2 separate regions of the Homo sapiens genome follow, and region 1 is linked to region 2. Evidence: promoter capture Hi-C in human tissues and cell types (Jung and others, 2019). All regions are on one chromosome and are shown on one strand. Each heading gives the region's core, a stretch centred on a gene start or on the middle of the fragment in contact. The rest is flanking DNA. Distances are from core to core; before and after follow the strand shown. Region 1 overlaps MACROH2A1 (macroH2A.1 histone). Region 2 holds the start of CATSPER3 (cation channel sperm associated 3).

Region 1 (3,667 bases), core at 203-2,702, 380 kb after region 2:
CATTGGAATCGGGTAGTAAGAAGAGAAAACCAGAGCCCCAAGTGAGGAAGTGGGTGATCTGTCCTCACACAGTTGGTGGGGGAGCTGGGCCTCCCCACTGACTGGACTCTCAGGTCCTTAGGAGGTGCTCTGTCCTGCACACCCCAAATGACCACCTAAATTCAGGCCTGAAGCAGTAAGAAGTACCCTGCCTCCAGGTCTTAGCAATAATTCTCCCCACATCAGATGCCAAGTCGTTTTCTTCCCCTTATACCAGGGAAGGTGTAATTGGCAAATGAGAAATGTGTATTTATATGTTTCCTCTTACACACACAGATGGCTGAAGATTTTTAATTTGTATCTCTCACCAGCAGTTTTGCAGATGGCTCAGTATCACTCACTCTCAGCTCTTAGATGTACCAAACTCAGCTCCTATAATTTCTTAAAATTTGTGATCTAGACATCAAACATATAGGAGCTATTTTAAGTAATAAAAAAAAATGCAAAGGTGATTTTCCCAGACAACCTGCATGTGGTGAAACTCTAAGATGTAAAGCTACAGGCTGTCCTTGGCCTCCATCTTGAAGATGCGGCTGTGCTGCCACACACCTCTGAATTCTAAGCCCTCTCACAAAATGGCTTTCCTAATACTGCATGTGTCACAACCAGATAAGCACGGTGGCTTTCCCACCTCACCTCCAGCTACTTCCAAGGGCCCGTTCTTTTTCCGGAGTTCCAGGACAGCTTCCACAAACTCCTTGCCACCTTTCTTCTCCAGCGTGTTTCCTAGACAAGGACAGGGTGGGGTCAGGTTGCCATTCTGTGTCTCCGGCACACACAGACACTTAGCATGTCAGGTGATTACATACTTCAAATGATCTATTAAATTTCCATCAGGCTGCAAAACAGGAACTAAGCCTTGGCTAAGTTAATAAAGTAAAATTGAGAAGGGCTTTGTCATCACCAGTTACTACCCTCAAATTGCTGCTTCATCTGGCTGTCTCTGCTGCCCCTTATTTGGGTCTGACTCAGGGTGATCATGGATGTGCCAGAGATGTGAAAGAGACAGGACATGCTTGTTTTTTGCAAACATGCTTGTCCTGGATGCTTTTCATTGGCATGAGATACTAGCTGGTACTGGTTTCCAAGACTAATGCCTGCCTTAGGTTTTCTTCTCTGTCTCTGGGGAGAACCCCCAAGTAAGGAGGTTTCAGCAGCATACAATGCTCCCATCAATAAGCCAGCTCTCCTCCTGGCAGCAGGCCTAGAAGGAAGTGTTCATACCTGGCCACCTTTGGACCAGCATTATTACCATGCTTAGTTCCTGTTTTGCAGCTTTGGTGTCATATGCAAATACAAAATAAAAATGGCCTCAGACGGTATTTTCTTAATTACACTAATGATTCAGAATTGTTTTCAGTAAAGAAGGGCAACATCAGAAGCAGAGCTTAAAGATTAATCTGTGTTCTATAAAAAGCTTGGAAAGGAGGATGTCTAACTGCTCAGGACCAGATTTTTCACAAAAGCCAATGGAGATTGGGAGCAATGTGTTTTCTTCAATTAGGGCACTTGCTAAGTAATCAGTTCCTGCTGTGAAAACCAAGTTCCCAAACAAGATCACCAACACCTATGAGAACTCTGGGTTGATGCTCATGTGGGATAGCAAGTGGCAATCAAAGTTAGCAACAAGATCAGCCTTTCAAGTTTGGCCAGAATGGGGTCTGAGTCTTCCTTAAGCTCTGATTCCTCAGTTTTGCACATTTTAAAGTACTTTTCCTCACAAGAGGACAAAATACTCCCCTTAAGATTCACATCTGTCTTGGAAAATTCCAGGTGCACCTGGCACAATTCTGGTATGGGACGGTCAAGGTGCATCGGAATGCACCAGCCCAAATTCTCTTTGGAGTCACCCTGCGATGACCAGGGTTAATTATCTTAGTGAAACTTGCCTCCTTTGAATGTTTGTTCTGCAGGGGTGAACTAACCCCGGGAGGTGTCTGGGAAGAAGAGTAAATAGCTTGGGCTTTGTCCCAAATAAGAACCAGGGCTAATGGCTAGGACTGGGCCTGTACCCACCCGCTGTAGGAAACCTGGGGTGTGCAGATGAACATGACCAGCAGCCATAGCCCAGGGGAGCTCTCAGCTGTGTCCGAGAGAGGGTGGCACAAACTTAGCATCCTTGAGGTGGGATTTTGTGTTACCCTTCATGATCTCAGACTGCCCTCCTGCCTCTACCTGTCCTGGAAAGCAGCACAGGCTTTAAATGGCAGAGTGAGAATGTCACACCTGTTGCTGCTGCATGTTTCTAGTAAAGTCAGCATCAGAGGTGGCAGCTGAATGGGGCATGCACTGGAGGAAGCAGGCCGGGGGCTTAGAGCCCAACTCCACCACTACAAAGTGGATGCAACCCAGGCGAGTGAGACCCCAATACAGGTTCACCTAAACTATCCCTGCAGCTGAGAAAAAGGAATCTGGAGCCGGAACCAGCTGGATTCCACACACTGCTGCCCCTGGGGCCCAGTCTAGCCTTCTGTCTTAAACCCATTCTCCAGCTTGAGGCAGGGCAACAAAAATGCTGGAGGCTGGACTAGTTAGCATTCTCAGTCTTTATCAGATTAACTCTTTGGTGAGAACTGAGAAATTTGAAAGGTAAAATAATGTTTTTACTTTATCATGATTACCAACTCCTTTCTAAAATATTTAAGAAAATGGGCTGATCTATAATTAAAGGTGTTTTATCTTAGGAAGAGTGTTTAAAATTTTTACTTATAAATATTGCTTTAAGTAAAAGTGAAATTTCCAAGTTAAAATACACTTAAATGCATTTCCCAAACTTAAAAACTGAACCCTAGATTGCAGGCAATCAACCCAGTCAGGACTTGACTCCTACACACACATATGTATGCACATGTTCATGTAGACACACATGTACTTTTTAACAAGAAACAGGCCCATTTTCAACCATATTGTCAACACTCTTATTGTAAGACTCTTGCTTTTTAGGCTTAACTTCAGGGTTAATCATAAAGCAATTGGCTTATTTGCCCCCAAGCATAAACATGTGTTACTCCCATGAGAACAAGGACATTATTTCATGCTTAGAAAGCAGGCATAAGTATCAGTGTTCAAAACAGCCTAAGCGAAAATTTAGGCTTGGACAAATGTCAGGCTAGGCCTGTGGTCTATTTCACTGTTAGAAAGAACTTTTGATGGGTAAAAGTTAATCACTGGGGCTAAGCATTCCTGCACTCGGATTCCTTCTTCCAGCAGTCTCAGGACTTCACACCAAATATGAGAAATGGAGTGATTACTAGCTTCCTCTTTTCTCCTCTCACACATCAAAGTGGGAGCTGGAACCAATTGAGGCCATGTAGGAATCTGGTTTATCATTGGGATTGTAAAAGATATCTGGGGTCAATACTGGTTTGGACTGGTCCGCTGGGCAGAAAAGCCCTGAAGGGCTTTGGAAGACTGGGTTCTGACCTGGCAGTCTTTCTGCCTTGGCCAGTTGGGGTGTCTGAACCTGCTGAGGATTTCTGCAGGTGTTACAGTGTCGGTGAATGATGTGTGCCAGGGTCCTGGGCCCAGATTGCTCCTGTGGCTTGGAAGCTAATAATTCCCCACCCTGTGCCTATCAATGAGTTGTAGGTGAACATGTCAGAGGAAAAGCATTAGCACCATCCTTATT
Region 2 (4,147 bases), core at 707-3,206:
TGAGGGCCTTCTGTGTGCCCTAGGGGATTGAGCACAGTGACATATCAGGGCAGGTAGAAACAGATGGAGAGCTGATGCGGGCTGTCTTAGAGCAGCTGCCCCAGGAGGCCCCTGTGGATGGATGTTGGGCAGGAGCCCTGAGACGTTAGGGGCATATAACTAAAGGACATAGCAGGAGTTATAGGAGGAGCTGATCCCTGAGGGAAACAATGAAGACGGAGAAGATGGGGCTAAAGTTTGAATTGTGGGGACATTAATCACAGTGATTCTTAAAACTTTGCTGTTGATGATTTTAAATGGAGAAAATGAGTACGTAAGATGTTATTTCCCAGTTCAGTATATTGGTTGCCCACAAAGTATTTTCCTACCATGAATGGTCATATATACTTGTTGTAGAATACCAGGGACAGCAGAGATGGTGGGGTAGTTACTTCCTTTTCTTACAGCCCAAGAACTTTGGTGTCCAGGAGATTGACCAATTTAGCCACTGAGCATTTAATACAACACAGGGCTACCCAGATCCCACTGTCCTGATTTGCCCTGAAAGCCAAAGGAGTTAGGAGAAGGTGAGTGGGGAGAATATATTAATCCTGAGAGTTGAACAGAGCAAAAATCCCTATTACTTTTGTACTTAAAACATCTCTGCCACATGTGCTCACTCTTTATATTCTGTTTAGGTGGTTTATATGTGCACATCCCATCCTATGCCTGCAGTTAGCCAACTCAGGGTTTATATTGCCTCCTTTCTTTTTTTCTTTTTTTTTTTTTTTTTAAGAGATGGGGTCTCATTCTATCATGCAGACTGGAGTGCAGTGGTGTGATCACAGCTCATTGTAACCTCCAACGCCTGGACTAAAGTGATCCTCCTACCTTGGCCTCTCTGGTAGCTGGGACTACAGGTGCATGCCACCACACCCACCTAATTTTTTTTATTTTTATTTTTTGTAGAGACAGTCTCACTATCTTGCTCAGGCTAGTCCTGAACTCCTGGGCTCAAGTTATCTTGCTGCCTCAGCCTCCCATGGGTAATTTTTATTTCCTTTTTTTTTTTTTTTGGAGATGGAGTTTCGCTCTTGTCGCCCAGGCTGGAGTGCAATGGCACGATCTTGGCTCACTGCAGTCTCCACCTCCTGGGTTCAAGTGATTCTCCATCCTCAGCCTCCTGAGTAGCTGAGATTACAGGCAACTGCCACCATGCGCGGCTAATTTATGTATTTTTTTTTAGTAAGAGATGGGGTTTCACCATGTTGGCCAGACTAGTCTTAAACTCCTGACCTCAAGCGACCTGCCTGCCTTGGCCTCCCAAAGTGCTGGGATTACAGGCATGAGCCGCTATGCCTCGTCGCTGATTTTTATTTCTTATTTTTTTTTTAGAGATGGGGGTCTCACTATGTTGCTCAGGCTGATCTCAAACTCCTGGCCTCAAGTGATCCTCCCACCTTAGCCTCCCAAGTTGCTGGGATTATAAGTGTGAGCCACTATCCCTACCTCACTATTACCTTCTTTGCTTCTCTTGTTTTCTTTTGTTCTAAGTCAAACCCATCACAATCTTTTCTTGTCCTTCCAGGTGTTTTCCAGTGCTGTGCCCTGGATGTGCTCTCTTTCTCTTAGAGCCCAGAGAACTTGCTTTTCCCCCTTATATATGACCCTTAACTTTTTCTAACACATTATTAAGGGCCTGTGTCTATCAGCTGGGGGCACTTCTTGAAGGGAGGGCCTTTGTGTGGTCTGTTTCTAGTGACTTCCAGCTTTAACCCAGAGCCTCATGATTGCTGGGTGCCCATAGCCTTTTTGCTGAATGGAGGCACTCAGTCTCCTTGGGAAGAGAGAATCCATGATAGACCCACTTGGGAGCTCCCCACTTCAGGGGCCTACACACTGGTAATGCAACAGAATGCCCAAGAGTGACCTCATAAAGCAAGGATTCCCTTCGTGGCCCCTTCTCTGCTGCCTCTCAGAATCCAGACGCTAAGGAAAATCCCTAAGCAGAGATTTTCTGTTGGATGCTAAAAGCAAGGAATAAAAGTTGAAAATTTGGAAAATGTCTCAACACCGTCACCAGCGCCACTCGAGAGTCATTTCTAGTTCACCAGTTGACACTACATCGGTGGGATTTTGCCCAACATTCAAGAAATTTAAGTAAATATTATCTATCTCCATTGCCTGTTAAGAAATGTGCTAGTAGAAGTGTGAGGGCAGGGTGTCAGTGTTCTCTCAGCCTCTTCCCTCAGATACTCGTCTGCTTACCAAAATAAGTTGCATGTCCTTGACAATCTGGTTTCTATGATTGGTGAGGCTGGCATGCTATTACCTTTATGTGCCCTGTAGACTTGAATGACCAGTTTGACCAGTTTGACTGTTAGATAATCTGAAGGCTTTTCTCTTTTTTTATAATAGACCCCATCTCAAATCAGATAATGAAAATTACATATCTTGATATATTAGAAAAGTATATACATTCTGGCTGGGCACGGTGGCTCACACCTGTAATCCCTGCACTTTGAGAGGCTGGGGCGGATCACTTGAGGTCAGGAGTTTGAGACCAGCCTGGCCAACGTGGCGAAACCCCATCTCTACTAAAAATACACAGATTAGCCCGGAGTGATGGTGTGCACCTGTTGTCCCAGCTACTCAGGATGCTGAGGCAGGAGAATCCCTTTAACCTGGGGGGCGAAGGTTGCAGTGAGCCAAGATTGCACCACTGCACTCCAGCCTGGGTGACAGAACGAGACTCTGTCTCAGAAAAAAAAAAAAAGAAAAGGAAAAAGAAAAATATATATTCTATATTTTTTTAACTTATGAGAATGTGTTCATTTCATTTGTAACATATAATGGGAAACAGTAATACGTACTCTGAGAAAAATTGCAAAGCACAGATAAATGGAAATAAACAGGAAAAAGAATCACCTATAACCTCACCATCCATAGACAGACACTGTTAAAATTTTGGCATATTTCCTGCTGATTTTTTCTACTGCTGATTTTTGCACAGGTGAGATAATTTTGAACAGAGAATTTTGTATCTTTGGTTTTTGTGTTTTGCTGCACACAAAAACAAAAGATATAAAAATGGATCATAAACATTTTTCTAAATCCTGAAAAATGCATAGACATATTTTAGTGCCTGTATTTCACAAGATGGACATACCATAATTTACTTACACAGTCCTTTTTGTTAGATGTTTAAGTTGTTTTCAAGCTTCTCAGTGCTGGAAAAAATACTGAGATAGACATGTTTAGTTGAAGTTATTTCATTTCAGGTTATATTATCTTGGGTCAGAGAATGAATGGTTCTCAGGCTTTTCAAAAGAGCTGGTCAGTTTTTATGCCTCTGGCAGTTTTTGAGAGTGCTCAATCATACTACACTGTTGCCAGCATTAGATCTTATCACATTTAAGTCATTGCTAATTTTATAAACAAAAACAATGGTTTTACTTTGCATCTCCCTGATTGGTATTGCTGTAGAACATATTTGGAGAAGTTTGTTTGTCTTTGGTGTTTATTTCATGAATAGATTGTGTGCCCATTTTCTCTTGGGGTATTCAGTTTTTTATTACTGATGTGAGCATGTGTATGGGTGATTATTTGATGATTATCAGTTTTGCTTAGTAGACTGGCAATATTTAGTCTTGCTGTCACTGTGTTCCCAGTGCCTACTAGATTGCTTGATATGTAGTTGCCACTCAATAAAGATTTGTTGAGTCAATGAAGATGACACTTTGTTTTGCTGGAGAAGGAGTGGTGACCATTCTTTTTCAGAGGTCCAGGGAGAGGGAGCTAAGTAACTGAGTGAGGACAGAGTATCCATGATCATCATATATATGTCAGTGGTCATTTATTCAACATCTCATTGCTATTTAAAAGTATATGTAAATTTATATTCACACAAGGGAGAAAGCAGAGCCTTGTCCCTACAAAAAGGTATGCATTTTATGGGGATCTAGCTCTATTGTGCTGTAACCATACTTCACATTCAACTTTTTGACAGGAGGAACGATGATGAATGTCGGGCATTTGTGAAGAGAGTCATAATGAGCCGTTTCTTTAAGATAATTATGATTAGCACTGTCACATCGAATGCGTTTTTTATGGCCTTGTGGACCAGTTATGACATAAGGTACCGCTTGTTCAGACTTCTTGAGGTAAG

What was found. The method cuts DNA at HindIII sites, captures the fragments that hold promoters and counts their contacts. A contact is called where the count stands out against the background at its distance.
Region 1: a contact is called between a fragment that was not itself captured here and the fragment with the promoter of CATSPER3 in region 2, in 1 of the 25 tissues and cell types used here (IMR-90 fibroblasts).

Annotation. Positions count from the first base shown.
Region 1 is chr5:135,345,293-135,348,959 of GRCh38, forward strand. It overlaps MACROH2A1 (macroH2A.1 histone), which reads right to left. Exons shown (of 9, transcript NM_138610.3): 7 at 676-765. Among named protein-coding and RNA genes, the nearest start is that of MACROH2A1, 52 kb to the right of the region's middle. The HindIII fragment of the contact is 5,802 bases long and covers 1-3,667 here.
Region 2 is chr5:134,965,951-134,970,097 of GRCh38, forward strand. CATSPER3 (cation channel sperm associated 3) reads left to right here and starts at 1,957. Exons shown (of 8, transcript NM_178019.3): 1 at 1,957-2,139; 2 at 3,989-4,142. The coding sequence starts at 2,042. The HindIII fragment of the contact is 15,471 bases long and covers 1-4,147 here.